Regions from separate parts of the Homo sapiens genome. Here regions 1 and 3 are each linked to region 2. Evidence: promoter capture Hi-C in human tissues and cell types (Jung and others, 2019). All regions are on one chromosome and are shown on one strand. Each heading gives the region's core, a stretch centred on a gene start or on the middle of the fragment in contact. The rest is flanking DNA. Distances are from core to core; before and after follow the strand shown.

The links. The method cuts DNA at HindIII sites, captures the fragments that hold promoters and counts their contacts. A contact is called where the count stands out against the background at its distance.
Region 1: a fragment that was not itself captured here is called in contact with the fragment with the promoter of ALX4 in region 2 in 2 of the 25 tissues and cell types used here (neural progenitor cells and thymus).
Region 3: a fragment that was not itself captured here is called in contact with the fragment with the promoter of ALX4 in region 2 in 1 of the 25 tissues and cell types used here (mesendoderm cells).

Annotation. Positions count from the first base shown.
Region 1 is chr11:44,347,235-44,351,384 of GRCh38, forward strand. No RefSeq gene overlaps it. Among named protein-coding and RNA genes, the nearest start is that of ALX4, 39 kb to the left of the region's middle. The HindIII fragment of the contact is 7,828 bases long and covers 1-4,150 here.
Region 2 is chr11:44,306,639-44,311,403 of GRCh38, forward strand. It overlaps ALX4 (ALX homeobox 4), which reads right to left and starts at 3,501. Exons shown (of 4, transcript NM_021926.4): 1 at 2,959-3,501. The coding sequence starts at 3,424. RefSeq lists an enhancer at 3,479-4,407. The HindIII fragment of the contact is 16,665 bases long and covers 1-4,765 here.
Region 3 is chr11:44,365,575-44,369,809 of GRCh38, forward strand. No RefSeq gene overlaps it. Among named protein-coding and RNA genes, the nearest start is that of ALX4, 58 kb to the left of the region's middle. The HindIII fragment of the contact is 4,409 bases long and covers 276-4,235 here.

The DNA of each region.
Region 1 (4,150 bases), core at 1,253-3,752, 40 kb after region 2:
AGTGAGAGGTACCGGGGTGTGCACCTCTGGGTGGGGCTGGTCCTGGGCCAAGCCCTTGGGCAAGCATCCAAGGCAGGGGCACGAAGCTGGTTTGGGGACATAGAGATGGGGAATTTGCTCTGCTCTCAAACTGCTTATCACAGAGCATGCCTGGATGTAATTTTCATGGACAGCCAGAGAGGTGATTTTCGGGGAGAGCAGGGTGAGAGAGTCAGGGCTGAAAGAAGGATGGCTCCAGACACTGGGGTGGAGTGAGCAGCCAGGTATCTGCTTGGGGACCTGCACCCACCTCGCACCTGCTGGGTGATTTGAGCAGCCCCTTAACTTCTCTGAGCTCCGGCTTCCTCTTGCCTCTTCCTAAGGCAGTTCTGAGGATTAGAGGGGAGAGCATTTGTGGAAACTCACAGAGGAAGTCAGAATATATTAGTTTTCCTGAGCTCTACAAAGACAGGTCTATGCCTCATTAATCCTATTCTTCCCAAGTTCGCACGCTTGGCCCCAGTTCCCATTCAAGGAAATCTTCTTGAATGCCACATGGGACTGGCCCCCTGGTTATTCGTGTCAGTTTTAGTGTCCAGCCTCTTTTGCCCCATTGGAGGTCTAAGTTGCAGTCCTGAACTGCCGTACCTTGCTCTGGAAGAAGCTTTTCTCTCTGGACACAGCAGTTTTCCTGCAATGATCACCAACCTTTGGTCACCTCCCAGGGTTGTTCCCGGGCCTGCCAAGGCTGGTCGCCTTCTGCCTCTGAACTGACTGGATTCATTTCCGTCTTCCCAGGGCTGGAGGAGCCTGACTTCTCCAGCCACAGAGAATTCCCACAGTCTTTGGGTTTTCAATTTTTGGATCAGTGTGTTGGAGCCCGAGGCCCTTTGGACTGCCCATATGTCTCAGATTTCCAGCTATAGTTTCAAACCCTCAGTGCCATTGTCCCTGTTGAGTGTCAGCCTAGGATCCTTGAATTTTAGTCTGCAAATAATACTGTTATTTTATTTGACCATAAACTGAGCACTTGTCTTTTCTAGGCACTTACTTAATCCTCACAGCTGCCCTGGGAGGTGGCAGTATTAGTACAATGCCCACTTTACAGATGAGGAAGCTGAGGCTCAGAAGGTTACGTAACATGCCCATGTTCACAGAGCATGGAGTGGCAGAGTTGGAACACAAAGCCATTTGTGTTCCAACACAAAGCCAGAACACCATTTGTTCTGCTTCCAAATATGGTGCACTGATTAAAAAGAAGGGCAACTGGCGTCCCCAAGACCCCTCAGCCTCTAACTTGCTCAGTGACACTGAATCTCTTGGGAGGTGTTCCCCATCTGGAACGGGGAGGGTGAAGAACTTCCCAGCCAGAAACCCGTCCCAGCCTTGGAAGACACCAATGGCTGGCTGCTGCACCAGGCTGGCTGTCACAAACTGTTCAGAAGGTGCAACTGGCCATGAAAGGTGAACTGTTGGGAGCAGAACTGCCTGGGGCTGTGTCAGAGGCGCCTGCCTGAAACTCTGCTGCTTCACTTGCCATGGCCCCGCTCAATCCCTAGGTCTGTTCTGCCACCCAAACCACGAGCCTCGGGATGACAGCCACAGGCCCCCTCCCATCCACCCCTCGCTTTCCTCCTTCCCTGGCAAGGGAGAAATCCAGGCCCCGAGTCGGTCAATGCCCCAGTGTTCCTGGCATCACCAGCCTCGGGGTTACTTTGCTGTCTTCAAAAAGGATCTGCCTTCCTTCCCCTCTGCCATCCCCATGGAGGCTTCACAGGCCTGCGGGTTCACCGGGCTGGGAGCACACATGGCCTCTTTGTGGCTATTCCCCCAAGGCCCTGCCATCTTTGAGGATGACAAACAGCCTTTGAGGAGAGAGTCACGTTTGCACACAGAAGACCACCACTTAACTTGTCCAAAAGCATTTTTATTTCCTTTGGCAATTTGTTTTCCTTTGGGTGAGAATAAAATGATGCAGGAGATTTGCATGCTCTGATATTTTTTCTCCCATTTCCCTCTTTCCTGTTTTCTGCCAGCCACTCCTTAGCTGTGCTGAGAAGTTGCCCTGAATGCACCCTCTAGTAGCTCTGGAAAGCTGCCTTATCTCTGTTTCTGTGGCCTGTGCAGGGTTTCAGGCTCAGCATCCCTCCCTGGAATGAGCCTGGCTGGTACCTGGTCTCTGGGCTTCCACTTCTGCTGCCTGGGATCCTTATGGTGGTCAGGATGACCTTGCAAGCAAGAATGCTAGTCTGATCCCACTGGCCCAGGCCACGTCTTGGACTGTCTCCTCCCCTCTCTTCCTCACCATTCTGGCCTCCTCCAGGCAGGCTTCCAGCTCAACACCTCTGCCTGGAATGCTTTTCTCCCAAATATCCATGTGGCTCCCTCACCTCCTCTAGGTTTCCCCGAGGTCACCTTCTCAATGAAGAAGCCTTGTCTGTCTACCCCATTTCAAGTGCTGCCCCTCCCCCAATTCTCCCAAGGCCGGCTGCCCCCAGTGCTTGATTTTTCTTCATCTCATTGATCACCTTCTGACCAGAGGTGGAGTCTCCAGCAAGCTGATGATTCCTAAGTTTCAGGACCCCTCACTGGTAGCTTCCAAGGCTTTGCACCTCAACTGATATTTACAATTTTTTATTCTTTTTTAATCTTAAAGAGTTCCTTACCCTGACATTATATGAGATCACTTCAGGCTCTGTGAAAGCCTGGATTTGCCTGCCTCTGCCTCTGACAACTCATCTGTTTTTATTTTGTTTATTGTGTCTTTCCCTCTACCATTAAAATGTAAACTCCACGAGGGCAGAAGTTTTTGTCTTTTTTTTTTTTGAGATGGAGTCTCGCTCTGTCGCCCAGGCTGGAGTGCAGTGGCATGATCTTGGCTCACTGCAGCCTCTACCTCCCGAGTTCAAGATCCTCCTGCCTCAGCCTCCCAAGTAGCTGGAACTACAGAAGCATGCCACCACACCTGGCTAATTTTTGTATTTTTAGTAGAGACGGGGTTTCACCATGTTGGCCAGGCTGGTCTCGAACTCCTGACCTCAGGTGATGCATCCACCTCGGCCTCCCAAAGCGCTGGGATTATAGGTATGAGCCACTATACCCAGCCTTTTTTTTAACTGTTTTATCCCCAGGGTCCAGAACAGTGACTGTACACAGTAGGAGCTCAATAAATCTGCTGAATGTATGTCATTCCCAGGCTCACATTTCTTTCAAGGGTTTCCCTTTCAGACTCCTTAACACCCCCATCCTTCAGCTTCCCTATTGTCTCGTACACTGGGATCCAGCCATCTTGCCCTCTTTCTGCTCCCAGATGTGCTAAGCTGCGGACTCAGGCCCTTGGAACACGCTGTTTCTTTTCTCTGGATGTTCTTCCTTTCCCCTTCCCCTCCTTATTCCTTAGATCTCTACTGGAATGTCACCTGCTTGCCTGGGCTCAGCCCAGCCCTGGGGTTATGTGCTCTCCAGGACCTCGGAGTCTGTCTTTACAGTGCTTGCTCTCACTGTCATGCACAGTCTCTGCCATTGGTGGTTTGGTAATTCATTTCCTCCTAAGGACTGTAAAAGCTCCATGAGGGTAGGCCGTGCTCAGCTGGGGTGCTGCGGTAACCCCAGCATAATCCCCGGCACTTAGGCCTTTTCATTGACCAGTAAATATCCGCTGAGGAAATGAGTGAATTAAAACACACTCGAGGCAAGACAGGAATCAGGCACAAATATTATCCAAATAAACAAAATCAGAATCCATGGCATGTCAGAGATGGGAGAAGGTTTAGAGATGGTCTAGTCTGCAAGTTGCAGAATGCGCTCTGCTCCCTCGTGCCTCTGTAGAGGTGTCCCCAAATCTGCTGCTGCATGTGTGCACATGTGTATGTGCATGTGCGCGTGTGTATGTATACATGTGTGCACACACATACAAGTGTTGCAGGGGGTGGGGCCGTCAGGCAGGCAAAAGAGGTGGCAAATGAAAACATCTCAGTTCCCCATTTCCACTTCAAACACAAAGAAGTTCTGCTTTATCTGTTTCTATATTGAACGTCTGCTTCCGATTTTGTTTGAAGAGAAATAGGACTTCCAGCCGAAATGAAATTTGGAAACTGACCAAATCCCTCCTCCCTATTTTATGGATGGGGAAACTGAGGCCCAGAGAGCAGAGGTACCTGCCTAAGATCAC
Region 2 (4,765 bases), core at 2,251-4,750:
ACTTTCCCAATGCTCCTGGGAGCGTCTAAGGATTTTTCCTTGAACTCCATTTCTCCGCTTTTGAGTATATACACTCTCACAACTGTGGGAGAGAATCGTTGTCAATGCATGCCTCAGTTTTCCTGCTTGCTGGCAGGGTAGGGATCCCACTCCAGAGTCCCTCCTCCTGGCTACTTCTGTTAAGGGCAGAGCCTCATCTTTTGTATCCTCAGTTTCTCCATCTTAGACCTAACGCGCCTAATCCCTTTCCTAGAAGGACCAGACATCTCCTGGCTGGGGAGACTCAGCTGCTGAGAGAGGGAAAGAACAAACACTGACTTGCTGTTTATTGTTTGTGGCTTTGCCCCGAGCAGTGCCTCCATCTTAGGCAGCATGGAGTGGCGTCCTGCCGGTAGTTACAGGCTGCCTTTGGTCCCAGCCTGCAGTTTATGACCCAGAGCAGTGGCAGGGACTTGCCCTGTCCTCAGAATTGGGTGCTCTCGAGTTCCCAGCGGCTCGGAGATAGATAGGGATGGAAATGTGGGTGGGGGTTGGGAGGGGCAGGGGTAGCGGGGGCTCTTGCTCTTGCCTCTTGCTGTCTCTGCAGAGGCACATTTATGACCCAGTAAGGCCTTTCTGTTATCACCCCAGGATGCAGATGAGGAAACCGGGGTTTGGGAAGGTGTTTGCTGTCAGGTCACACTGCCACGGGTTAGGGGCAGTAGCGGGTCAAGTGGCTGGCCCTTTCCGTCAGCTCCAAAGGCTAGTGCAAGTAGAGGAAGGGCCAGGCTGGCTGTGGGGGCCCAGCAGGACACAGAGAGAGGGCTCAGGGGAGGCCAGGCCTCTCCGCCTTCCCTCTGGACCTGAAGGCATTTAACCAAGAGGTGGGGAGCTCCTTAGGCTCTCTTCTTGCCTAATGTATCAGCCTCTTCAGAGGTCTCACTGGTAATTTTCATTAAAATATGAAAATTCAATGCAGTGGAGAGAGAGCATGAGCTCTCTGGCTATGCAGGATGAACCTCCATGGGTCCCCTAGTCTGCGACCTGCCCTCACCTAATAGTCCTGAATGACAGGGACGAGCTGGGGCCTGCATCCCTGGGCTGGGAAGGACAGCCAGTACGGACAGGGCTGAGAGTCTCTGCTGGCTTAGCACGGAAAGAGTGCCTGTATGAGAGCTGTGTGTGTCCATGTGCGGAGCTGTGTGTGTCTGTGTGTGGAGCTGTGTGTGTCCATGTGTGGAGCTGTGTGTGTCCGTGTGTGGAGCTGTGGGTGTCCGTGTGTGGAGCTGTGGGTGTCTGTGTGTGGAGCAGTGGGTGTCTGTGTGTGGAACTGTGTGTGCCTGCATGTGGAGCTGTGGGTGTCTGTGTGTGGAGCCTTGGGGGTCTGTGATCTGAATGCCTGATCTCATTCCAACTGGAGGTGAAGAGGAAGGTGGAGGAAGTGGGGAAGGGCCACTGAATCTTTCTAAATCTTCTCTCAGTTCTGTCCTATGGGTTTGGGAGTATGTGGCTCATTCGAGGCCACATGGGCATGTGTTCTTGGGGTATGACCACATCGGCTCCTAAAGAAGATGCTCTCTGCGTGTGTGTGTGTAGAGTGCAATTGTAGACAAGCATATGACTGTGAATGTTTGTCAGCAGCCATCTATGAACTAGTTCTGCGCCTGTGAAAGAAGGAACCTGAATACGAGAAAATATCTGCCATCGGCTGTTTTCCCAAAGTTATTCTAGCCACCAAGGCCTCCGCCGTGTCCCAGCCTCTGTCCCCAGGCCTAGTGCCTCTCCATCAGCCTGGATCAGGGCAAATTCCCTGCCCCCAACTCTTCCCACCAGGGCCGGACCTGAAGGCCAAGGCCTCCGGGTATGTGCTCAGGACTCCTGGCCCAGAGAAGGTTTTTCCCTTTCTGCGTCTTTGCTTCCCCTTCCGCTTTGGGGTTCAGGAACCCCGATTCTCTGGAAGAAGAGAAGGCCTAGGCTACTGAGCTGCTCTGGCTAGAGACGTCCTTGAGTGTCTCTCTCTCCCGGGCAATGGTGGCTGTGCTCTGGGGGGCCCAGGCCTGCCTCCTGTGGCTGCGTTCAAGGCAGCTTGGAGGTCATTTAGGCCAGCTCCCCCGGGTTCCCCGTGGGCTCAAATCAGGACCCAGACCCTTCTCTCTTGCCACAGCTCTGGGCCACCTGGGACTCGGGACTTCCTGTCTCCCTTCCTACTCTGTCCTAAACCATTGTTCAGAGGCCTGCCGCCTCCAAGAATCGCCGAGGGAGAAGCTCCAGGGGAACTGGCCTGCCCGCATCCCCACTGCCAGTAGCGCTCAGGGTCCCAGGACTCGGGTCTTGCCAGACCACAGTGTCCCCTGGGACCCTAGGGTCTCTGGCTCCGCACTGTGTTGCGCCAGTGCGCCTGGATTTCCCGTGAGCTTTCGGCCAACCACGCTCCGGGCTTCCCGCCTGGCTCCGCACCTGCGGCGCTCTCACCTGCGGCGGCGCCGCCCGAGGAGCCTCCCAGCCGGCGAGGAGCGAGGCTTCTGCAGTCCTGCTGTCCCGCAGCCCCGCAGCCCCGCAGCCTCGCAGCCCCGCAGCCCCGCAGCCCCGCAGCCCCGCAGCCCCGCAGCCCAGCGCCAGAGCGCTGCGCGGAGACTCCTTGCCGCCGCACGCCCTGGGCCGGTAAGAAGCATCCGCTTCAAATCCCGCCCAGCGGGCAGCGCAAAGCGAGCGGTTTGGGGAAATGCCGAAGGGACCGGGAAAAACAAACTCCAAGTCGAGTTTAACAGCCGAAACGCTCCGTGCCTAGGCCGGCGGACAAGAAGGAGACAGAACAGATCCCTTGGCTCCCTCGCAGCGATCGATCCCGTTTACCGACCAGAGTCACCACCCCGCCCCCAGCCCGCCAACTCATACCTCCCGCAAGCCACCAGTTTCAAGGGATGCGGAAGCCAAGCACCCCGTGGTCCCCAGCACCAGGTGACCCGCACGTGCACTCACCGTAGCAGGGAACCTGCAAGGCCGCGCTGTGGCCGCTGCTGCCTTCCTGGAGTTTGAGGCTGCCGTCCGGGGGCGTCTTGCAGGCGCCTCGCTGCAAGTAAAGATGCGGTTGCGCGGGCGGCTGGGGCTGCGGCTGCTGCTGCTGCGGCTGCGGCTGCGGCGGCGGCTGGGGCTGCGGGGTCGACGGCTGGGGCTGGAACTTGTTAAAGGAGCCCCGCGCCCCAGCTCCACTCTCCAGGGGTGTCGCCAGGTCCTGCTGCCCAGCGCCGTAACGGGCCCGGCTCTTGGCGTCCCCGAATCCCTGTGCTTTGGCGGCGGCCGACAGGAAAGTTGTGCCGAACTTGTCGCCTCCGGGAAATGCCCTAAAAGGCGACGAGCCCTCCCGACTCTGCGACACCGGGCTGTAGTAGGCGTCCATGGCAGCGGCCGGCGACTCGCAGTAAGAGACGCAAGTCTCAGCATTCATGCCTGGCTTGCGCAGGCGGCGGGCGGGGACGCGAGCGAGGGCGCGAGGACGCCACCGCGCGCCTTGGCTGGGAGTTTGGGGAGGCGAGGAGGCTGTGGCTGTGCACTCCTTGCCCGGCCTGCTCGCTCTCCCTCCTCCCCTCCACGCCGGCCTCTCTCTCTCTCCCCCTCTTCTTTCTCTGTCTCTCTCCTCTCTCTCCCTCCTCTCTCTCTCTTCCCCTCCCTCCCCCCCCCTTCCTCTCTCTCTCCCTCTCTCTCTTTCCTCCCTCCCCACAGCTAGCCGAGGGAAAGAACGGAGGGCAGTAAAAAGATTCAGATGTTTCGGAAAGTTGACCAGATCTCCCAAACCCTCTTAAGGTTTTGCAGCGGAAAAAAAAAATAAGTAAATTTTTTTCCCTGCCTTGCTTCTTCCTTTCCCCCTCTCTCGTCCCCTCCTCCTCTCTCCTTCCACTGGCCCCTGCCCCCTCCTCTCCACTCTTAAGGAGATGCTACTAACTCGCTAGCGGGGATTCAACCCGGAGGCGCCCGAGGGCTTTTCCGATTCTAGGCGGGGCTGGGGAGATGCCAGGATCCCCAGGGCTCCCGAGGCTAGGCTGAGAATTGGCGGGGTGTCGGAGCTTTGCCTTAGGGCAAAGGGAAATGCAAATTTTAATGACAGGTTAAAAAAAAGCCCCCCAAAATAAACCTAACAGGTTTTGACATTCGAAGCCAGGGGGACCACGGGCCTGCGGATGCAAGCGAGTCCTACGGACTCCTGCGCGCGAGCTCGCGGGCGCCGCTGCGGGCCTTCCCGCTGGCACCTTTTCCTAGGTTTCCAACCTTCCTCCCCATTCCCGTTCCTACGGGAGATTAACACACACACAAGCCTTCGTCGTCCAGTGCATGGTCACTTGCACGTCTTGTTAACTATTTCCCTCTGCTGTAAGGGCGCTGGGCTGGGATGTAGCGGAATCTGTGCTCCCTCAAGCCCTGGAGAAGCCCTGGGCTGGGCCCGGCTTCAGAAGCTTTAGAGCGCTGCCCTCTGCGCTCCCGTCTAGAGGCCGCACCGTTCACGCCCCACGTCTGCGCCCAGGCGAGGGGATTTCCTGCCAGGCGAAGTACAGAGAGCGGACTCTGGAGACCCCCTGACCTTGCCCGATAGTCGCGCTGTCACCTGTTCACTCCTTGGGGTCAGGGGTCGGGGAGAGGGGTGAGACCGTCTCTTCCCTTTCTGGCCTCACTGCCCCCGACTGTAAAACGAACTGCTTGGTTTTGATAGGTTGTGGTTTCACCACCACTGCGAGCCTCAAGGCCCCTGGCACCGCCACAGCAAGGGAAAAAACTTTGCGCGTGCAGCCCCTCG
Region 3 (4,235 bases), core at 1,230-3,729, 58 kb after region 2:
GCTTCCCTACTCCTTTCTTTAATCAACAAGCATTTGCTGAAGGCCTCCCGTGTGCCAGGCCCTGGGCTCAAGACATATCTGTTTAATAAATAAATAAATAAATGCTTTCTTCTTCCCGTACCTGCTTCTTCAGGGCTGAGCCCTGGGTAAAACAGGGACCTCGGCCAAGAATTCACAGTGTGGATGGGGCATAGGACATAGGGTCGGGAGGCCAGGAAAGCTCTGGATTCTGGGTTCAGGTCTGCCCTCAGCAGCCGGCGTCTCTTAGGAAACGGGGCTTTCTTCCTTGTCCCCTACCCCATCCATGCCCACACTCCCAACCTCAGGGGCTGCTGGGTGAGCCATGAGCTCCCGACCTTCCCCTGTCACTGGCTGAGTCTGAAAACCTCCCCGTGCACCTCTCAGGTAAGGGAGTGGGGATAAATATTCCTACTTCCAGGATGGTGTGTGGTATTGGCCAGGTATGAAACAGGAATAAGAATTGTAAAGAGCCTAGCACGGCGCCTGGCCAGGGGAGGAGGTGATCATGTTAGCCTCCTTCCCTGCAGCCAGTGCCATAGCAACCTGTTACTCAAAGTGTGGTCAGTCCTCAGACCTGGGAGCTGGTTAGAAACAAGGACTCCCAGGCTCCACCCCAGCCCCAGCGAATCTAAATCTGCATTTTGCCAAGATCCCCAGGCTTGGTGTGCACATTGAGTTCGAGAAACTCTGCTCTCTGACATGCCCTGGAGCTAGCCACCACCTCTCTACGTCTGTTTCTTCAACTGTAAATTCGGGTGATGTTAAAAATAATAACTGGATAAGCCAAACAGAATGAGGAAATCCAGTCTGGATCAAAAGAATGGGATAGCATATTCCAAAGCCAAACAGAATGAGGAAATCCAGTCTGGATCAAAAGAATGGGATGGCATATTCCAAAGTCAAACAGAAAGGGACTGGGGGCTTTCTGCCAGTCTCTGGGCCACAGCTCTGTTGGTTGCTGGAAGCAGATGGAACCCAAGAATGGGGGCAGCAGAGGGGCACTGGGGTCATCTCTTCCATCCTGTGTTGGGTTTAAAAATAGACCTAAGGGAGGGTCTGGACGGGCAAAAGACCTTCTCCTGCTTCTCCTTATTATGGGGCCTGTAGAGGGGAGGTCAGGAACCACGCCCCATCCTGTGGTTTACAGGACCCCTCCCTAATAAAGCAGAGGGCTGGGAGGCCGTGCATTCCAGGGTACATAATTAAAACCAATGAGGGTTATTTGGAATAACAGACCGTTTAGTCGGAAGCACTTGCCATGCTAATTCAAACAAGGTGATTACAGGCGATTAGCAAGCCTAATGGCTTCAGTTTAAAAACAGCCTAGCGGAGAGATGAGCGAGTGGCCTCTGCTGCTTCCGGTGAGCAGTGGAGGGGACTGACCTGGGACTGAAATTCACAAGGTCAGTGCCACGGGGGCTTGTGGGCCTCCCACCTAGGTAAGACACTGGCCCAGTGCAAACTGCTTCCAGGGTGGAAGAGGCTGACCCTGCCTGGGGAGAGTCAGAAGTCAACCTGTTCAAGCATACCCAGACACCTTTGCCTGCCCCACAGAAACTGGGTCTTTCCTGTCTCTTTAGCCCCATCCCCTGTGGCCTCTTCAGTACAGAGGCTGGGTCTTGAGGCCCCTGCATCCTTGAAAGGGAATGTTTATGGGTATACCTACACACACCTAATATCTTTTTTTTTTTTGTTTTTTTGAGACAGAGTTTCTCTGTTGCCTAGGCTGGAGTGCAGTGGCGTGATCACGGTCACTGTAGCCTCATATTCCCAGCTCAGGTAATCCTCCCACCTCAGCTCTCTGGTAGCTGGGACTAGAGGCACATGCCACCATGCCTGGCTAATTAAAAAAATTTTTTTTGTAGAGATGGGGGTTACCCTATATTGCCCAGGCTGGTCCCAAACTCCTGGGCTCAAATGATCTGCCTGCTTCAGCCTCCCAGAGTGTTGGGATTACAGGCATGAGCCACTGCATCAGGCCCACACACCTAATATCTTATTCAGCACTGTACTAAGCAATTCATACATGTCATCTCATTAATTCATTTAAGTCAGCACCAATTGTTGTCTCCATATGACGGAGGAGGAGCTTGGATGCAGACAGATTGTCTGAAAGTGACAAAGCCAGGCCTGTTACCCAACTCCTCCTGTCTCTGAAACCCTTCTATTATCTTGCTGAATGCATATCACAAGGTGGGCACTTTCACTGCAATTCCCATCTTACAGTCTAGGGGACTAAAGCTCAGAGGAACTAAGGAACTTGCCAAAGGTCCCTGTCACCTGGCGAATGGCAGAACTGGGATTTGACCCTGATTTTGCTGATGCAAAACCTTCGTTCTCAAGCACCCTGGAGAGGGAGCAGAATTGCAGCCAAGCTTGGATGGAGAGGGGAACAGCAGGGAGACTTGTCAGGGAAGGGCATCCGAGGCACAGGGAATGGCACAGATACACAAAATAGGGAGTTTTCGGTGGCTAGAGACCAAAACCCCACACTGACCTGCTTAAACTTATTTAATAAGGAATATGTATTATCACCAGAAACAAGAAGTCCTGAGGACTGCCTAATTTAGAGGCTTCATGCTGTCCTCAAGTACACAGGCCTCCTGCCTTTCTGCCTCCCTTCCATCAGATATTGCTAGGCACCTTTCTCTGTACCAAGCATGCTCTTAGGCTCTGGGGTTACAGTGGGGAAAAAAACCAAGTCCTTGCCTTGGTGGCGCTTACATTATTGTGTGAAAGATGATTAAATAGACGCATACACACACGCTGTATATATATCATGTATATTATATGTATGGCATATATACATGATACATAGGGCGAGAATGCCTAATATGAAAATCCAAAATGCTTCAAATTCTGAAACTTTTTGAGCGCCAACATGATGCCACAAACGGTAAATTTTACACACAGTCTCACTTGATGGGTCACAGTGAAAACGCAGGTGCAGAACACGGTTTATTCTGGGTCCCCAAAGCAAAAATGAAATTACATTCAGGCTGTGTACATGAGGTGCACATAAATCATAAATAAATTTTGTCTTTAGACTTGGGTCCCATCCTTCAGATATCTCATTATGTAATGTGAATATTCCAAAATCTGAAAAAAAAAAAAAAAAACAAAAAACCCTGAAATCTGCAACACCTCTGGTCTCAACTATTTCAGATAGGGGATACTCAGTCTGTTTAATATGTACTCATATATAAGTGTTTATGATATATTATATAGACACAGTGTATGTGTATATTATACACAATGCATGTGTATGTAATTTAAATATATAACACAATGTCAATTAAAAGCTATGAATAACAAAGCAAGAGAATAGAATGGCAGAGGGGAGAGAAGTCAGAGGAGTCTATCTGAGGAGCTGATATTTGAGCAGAGACCTTAATGAAGTGAAGGGGTGAGCCAGGTGAGAGCTGAGGGAAAGTGTTCTTGGCAGAGGGAATTGCAGGTGCAAAGGCCCTGGGGTAGGGTGGTGCTTGCAGTGGAATGTGTGAGTTGTGCATGCTCTGAGGGTCAGGTTCTCGTGCAGATGAGTCCCCCTCATGGTGGCCAAGTGACCATAGCAGTTCCAGGCACCATAGGCAGACATGACGCTGGCCAGTGAATAAGAGGGGGGTCTCTTCCCTGTATATCATGCCTTTTGTAAATCAATGAAGAAACTCTTCCTGAGAGCCCCAGCAGGTTTCTCATTAATCTTCTTGGACAGAATTATATCACAGACCCATGTCTAAACCAGTCCCAGACAGGGGAATGGGACCTACGGTGGTTGGCTTAGTAAGGGAGACACCCTTGGAACTGGCAATGGGACCATCCTTTGACTGGTAGGGGAGAGGAGGTAGATATTCCCCCCCAAAAAATGGGGCCCTGCCAGGAAGGAGGAGGAGAAAAGGCTGCCAGGCAGGCAACCACTGTGTCTGGCATGGCAGGAGCTGAGTTCTGGCTGATGAAAGCATTTCCATGTGGCTATGCCCCTGATTACTGTATCAAGTGGGCCTGTGGGCCTGCTCCCCCTTTCTTCCTGGAGCACCTCTCTTCTTCGCCTTCATCCCCCATCCCCCAATCTACCTCAACACTTGGCTTTCAGAATAACTCCATGCTGGGGAAAAGAAGCAGCTGAACTAAAACAATGAACTAAAAAGCCCATCTTTTGACAATATTCACATTTGGAGAAGTAAAAAATTAAATGACGTGCTGGTATTTTGAAA